Linked DNA regions of Homo sapiens: region 1 is linked to region 2. The links are contacts of gene promoters, found by promoter capture Hi-C in blood cells and fetal thymus (Javierre and others, 2016). All regions are on one chromosome and are shown on one strand. Each heading gives the region's core, a stretch centred on a gene start or on the middle of the fragment in contact. The rest is flanking DNA. Distances are from core to core; before and after follow the strand shown.

Region 1 (2,700 bases), core at 26-2,525, 390 kb before region 2:
CGGAAAGAGACAGCCAAGAAGAGCCCTTCTATGCATACAGTCAAGTCCAATCAGAAAGGCTGTGCTAGGCTGCACTCACTTGGGAAAAATCAGAGCAGGATGTGGGGCAGATTTCATAGCATTTCTCAAGTCACCCACAGGCCCATCAACATAGGGTGGAAATTTTATTGGTAAAAAGGGCATAAGCACAACTTCTGATTAACAACTGACTGAACAATATGTTATTCTGGCGCAGGAGTGACTCCAAGACAGCCAAGCTTAAAAATAAAATCATAGTCATCCCTGAAAGTCTGGAAGACTATGTGCATACCCAAGGCTGCATCCTCCAAGAAGCAATCAGAGAGAGAACCACCAGGCTGCTAGTTCCTAGGTGAACACGGGAGAAAAGTAGTAAGCTCCCTGAACTGTGATAAGAGCCTCCACATCACACATATCATTTCCGACAGTAAAGGGTAAAAAAACCTAACAGACTAAGGACACTGAGGCATAACCTTTGACTAGTAAATGGCTTATGCTGACCTAGAGAAAACCCCTATCTAGCCAGGCTAAAAGATAAAAATAAGGGGGCCAGGTTTGGTGGCTCATGCCTGTAATCCCAGCACTTTGGGAGGCGAAGTGGCAGGGCGGGGGCGGCAGATCCCCTGAAGTCAGGAGTTCGAGACCAGCCTGGCCAACATGGTGAAACACCATCTCTACAAAAGCACAAAAATTAGCTGGGCATGATGGCGAGTGGCTGTAATCCCAGCTACTCGGGAGGCTGAGCTGGAAGAATCACTTGAACATGGGAAGCAGAAGTTGCAATGAGCCAAGATCGTGCCATTGCACTCCAGCCTGGGCGAGAAAGAGTGAGACTCTGTCAGGAAAAAAAAAAAAAAAAAGATAAGAATAAGGGAAAAAAATCTAAGCAGGGACATTAGAAGCTGCACACTGCAATAGACTTTGAAGAACTACTTAAGCTTAGCTATTAAACAAATGACGAAGGAAACAACAAGCCCCAGAGAATCAGCATTCAGAATTGCTATGATATGTGATCTAAAATGTCCAGTTTTCAGTAAAAAGTTGTGAGACATTAAAAGAAACAGGGAAATATGACCCATAAAAGCAGGCAACAGAAACAGCCTTAGAGAAGGCCCAGATGTTGAACTTAGCAGACAAAGACTTCAAAGTAGTTATTATAAATAAGTTCTAAGAAAACATGCATAAAAATAAAGGTATGAGAAGACTTCAAAAAGTTCATGGAAAGTGGAAGCAACAAACAGTAAAAATAAGAAATATAAATTTTATTTCCCAACATAAATTCCATCAAGGTCAAAACAATTTTGTAAGTGATGATACCAGCAGTTTAGTCCATCCCTAAAGAACTGAGGGTCCTGGGAATTTAACCATGTCAGTGCAGTCTTTTTTATATTATTAACTGAATAAAAATGGGTGTCCTTTAAAGATTGTTTAAAATTAGGTGGGGAAAAGAAGTCAGAAGTAGCCAAATCAGAACTGGAGGGCGTATGCTTAAAGATTTCCCATTTAAACTTACAAAATTTCACTTGTTTGTTGAGAGGAATAAGCAGGAGCTTTGTGGCAGAGGAGGACTCTATGATGAAGCTTTCCTAGGCATTTTTCTGCCAAAGCTTTGGCTAACTTTCTCAAAACACTCTCATAATAGGTAGATGTTATTGTTCTTTGATCTTACAGAAAGCCAAGAAGCAAAATGCTTTGAGCATCCCAAAACACTTTTGCCATTATCTTTGCTCTTAACTAGCCCACATTTTCTTTTTCTTTTCTCTTCTCTTTTTTTTCTTTTTTTTTTTTTTTTTTGAGCTGGAGTCTTGCTCTGATGCTCAGGCTGGAGTGCAGTGGTGCAATCTTGGCTCACTGCAACCTCCGCCTCCCGGATTCAAGCAGTTCTCCTGCCTCAACCTCCCAAGTAGCTGGGGTTACAGGTGCTCAACACCATACCTGGCTAATTTTTACATTTTTAGTAGAAACAGGATTTTGCCACATTGGCCAGGCTGGCCTCGAACTCCTGACCTCAGGTGATCTGCCCACCTCGGGCTCCCAAAGTGCTGGGATTGCAGGATTGAGGCTCTGCGCCCAACCCCCATGTTTTCTTTGACTGCCACTTCCACCTCTTGGTAGCCATTGCTTTAATTCTGCTTTGACTTCAAGATCATACTGGTAAAGCCATGTTTTATCTCCTTTTACAGTTCTTCGAAGAAATGCTTTAGGATCTTGATCCCACTTATTTAAAATTTCCATTGAAAGCTCTGCTCTTGTCTGCAGCTAACCTGGGTGAAATGGTTCTGGCACCCATAAAGTAGAAAATTTGCTTAATTTAAAATTTGCAGTCAGAAGTTTTTAAGATAAACTAATTGAGGTATTTATGGTGTTGGTGTTGGCTATTGTTCCTGCTGTTAATTATCAGTCCTCTTTAATTAGGGCATGAACAATATTAATTTTTTTCTTTACAAATTGATGTTCATGGGCTGCTGCTGCAGGCTTCATCTTCAACATAGTCTTATCCCTTCTTAAAAAGAATTATCCATTTGTAAACTGCTGATTTCTGTATTTATTTATTTGTAAACCACTGATTTCTTTGGGGCATTGTCTCCATAAACTTTTTGTAAAGCATCAGTGATTTCACCATTCTTCCACCCAAGATTCACCATAAATTTGATGTTTGTTCTAGCTTCAGTTTAGCAGAAT
Region 2 (2,700 bases), core at 175-2,674:
TTAGTCTATTGCCATATAGTAATAAAGCTTTATCAAATCAAACCTTTATAATGGATTCCTTGAAGATACTTGAAAATACTTCATAGCCAATAGTTTTTACACAATTGGTTTTTCAAGCAATGAATTTCCATTTAAATAAAATATGGATTTACAATACATAGAAAATTTACAAGGAGTTATAAAACAGTGGGAAAGTATGTCTAGCCTAAACTTTTGTGCATTTAGTCTAGGAAAATTTCACATCCCTCTTTCCACACCTATAAAGCCAAACAGAACCAGGACTGACTTGAGGAAAGCAATTATTTATCTCTGCTGTGTCTAACTAAGCAAGCTGCCAAATGTGATCATTTGCCTGATTGGAAAATCACATAAATTAAGACTTTGCCATCAACTTTCTTTCAAGTAAGGAAAGAAAAGCATTTCAATATAGTAATGCAAAACAAGTGGAAATTGTTATTGAACATTTACTTGGACGGGCACTGTGGAAAATTATTCCTTGTCCAACCACCTCCTCAGCTGTAACTGGTAGCACAATTCTTGACCCATTTTACAGATTAGGAAACATGAGTTTCCAGAGTTTATTGGCACTCACGTGGCTGTTACATCGTTTTGATGTTCAAACGACCTACTTTATTCAAAGTCAGGTAGTACAGTCTGCTGGTGGGAAATACAGTATTACTCAAGGGACTTCAAAGGAACAAGAAGATGTTTGAGTTGCACAGTGAGCTAAATTATGCAAGTTGCAGAAATCCTAGGTGGATAGTACGACACCTTTCAGATCAGTTTCTACCCTCAAGGGTGGCAACAACCTTGTAGATCCATTATGGATTAGGTTTCTAAACTGTTTTGGTGTTATGAACCCCTAGAGTCTTCTGGGGAATCCAATGGACCTCGTCTCAGAATAATGTTTTACAATGTATAGCAGAAAGAAGAGAAATTATATTGAAATACACTTCTGGCATTTGACCCCTTAGGATTTTTCCAGCATTTCTACTCTGCCCACCTCTCCTCTCATGTCTACCAAAGAGACTTTCTCTACTTTATTCAGAAAGGTAAATGAGAGACACTCAAACAGGTCTGTAGGTTATGGGAGTAGCAGGGAGTATGGGATAGGCTACTGAGGAGCTGTTTTTGAGGTGACATCACTGTCTCCCTTCCTTTTTCCCTTCCCTCTGGAAGCCTCCTTACTTCTCCAGCTCTTCCTTCCTTCCCCACATCAAGTCCAATTTTTCTCCTTTTACTTCTTGTCTATCCTCCTCACTCCTTGCTCAGCCCCGCCCGCTTTTCTAGGCCCGCCCCTCCAGGGCCCCACCCTCAGGCCGCTCCTCCAGTCTAGGCCCCGCCTTCTCCTCAGTTTCCTGCCAATGACGCTGGGGCAGCCGGGGCAGCCGGGGCAGCCCGGTCACCCCGCCCCCAGGCCCACACTAAGGGTGTCCGCGGCCTGCCCTCCAGGCGGAGGAGCCCGGACTGCGGAAGGATGGAGCTGGCCGCCGGAAGCTTCTCGGAGGAGCAGTTCTGGGAGGCCTGCGCCGAGCTCCAGCAGCCCGCTCTGGCCGGGGCCGACTGGCAGCTCCTAGTGGAGACCTCGGGCATCAGCATCTACCGGCTGCTGGACAAGGTAGCGGCCAACCCGCTGGAGGACCGCGGGGCCTAGAATGCGCCGGGGTCGACCTCCCCGCAGGGAGTGCGGGGCGGCAGTCGCGGAAGGGACAGGGGCGCGTCTTCTCCGGCTCAGGAAGGAGCTCCGCCCGGACCCTGTCTCAAGCTCTGGAGCTAGCGCAGGGGCGGTGCCTCCAAGTGACTGCCGTGCAGATCCAGGGGAGTTGGAAGGTCACAGGAGTTCAGCCTCAGGTCAGGCCCGACGGGGCATGTAGTTAGAAGTTAATGACAGTTGAAACGTGGGTCAGCTGGTTCCTAGGCCCGTGCACACGTCTGCAAGGGACGTTGATCCTCACTCTCCAATGCGTGTCAGTGGCATATGGGGGCTGGGGTGGGGGAGGGGCGGTATCTTAGGGCTTGGATATAGGAGGAAAAGAAACAGAACTTTTCAAGGACTGGATGTGCAGGGTGGTGTCAGGGGTTGCCGAGAAGGGCCCTACTGTTTTAGTGACTCGTTTCTTTTGGTTGTTGCCCCTTCCTTCCAAGTTGCTCTTAATAAGTTGAGTCCGAATCTTCAGGCAGGAGTAAAGATGTAGGAGGAATGGGATTGGTTGTTGAAGTCTTTGGAATCAGGTAGCCATCCAGGTGGAAGGCATTGCCCCTGAGGCCTGTCATCCAAGGCTTGTCATCAGTTGCTTTGTGTAATAGTCGCAGCATGGCAAGTAGGTTAAAAGTCGCCTGCAGGTAATGTGGGTGAAACTGAAGTTTCCTAATACAGGACCAGGATATTATAGTGTTAGAGTTAGGAGGATACCTCATGCTCACCTGGTTAAACCCCAGGTTTCATAGGTGAAAGCAACAGGCCTCAAGGGTGAAGTCACTCCTGAAATGGCCCAGATAAGTGAATAGCAGAGGTGGGATTGGAGGGTTCATGATCTTGTGAATGTCAAACATGTGGTTGCCTTTTTAGGCACTTGCATTTTTGTTTACATCAAATATAGTGTTTTTATATTTTAAAACAGAAAACAAACGTTTGCAATATTTAGAAGTTGCTCACCTGTTAAACAGGAATGAAAACTCTGCCTGTCTCATTGCAGGAAT

Evidence for each region. The method cuts DNA at HindIII sites, captures the fragments that hold promoters and counts their contacts. A CHiCAGO score of 5 or more calls a contact.
Region 1: a fragment that was not itself captured here is called in contact with the fragment with the promoter of PCTP in region 2 in 1 of 17 cell types (total B cells); the score reaches 5.8 in total B cells.

What each region holds. Positions count from the first base shown.
Region 1 is chr17:55,358,070-55,360,769 of GRCh38, forward strand. No RefSeq gene overlaps it. Among named protein-coding and RNA genes, the nearest start is that of MMD, 62 kb to the right of the region's middle. The HindIII fragment of the contact is 643 bases long and covers 955-1,597 here.
Region 2 is chr17:55,749,627-55,752,326 of GRCh38, forward strand. PCTP (phosphatidylcholine transfer protein) reads left to right here and starts at 1,425. Exons shown (of 6, transcript NM_021213.4): 1 at 1,425-1,618. The coding sequence starts at 1,478. RefSeq lists a silencer at 1,223-1,562. The HindIII fragment of the contact is 1,470 bases long and covers 26-1,495 here.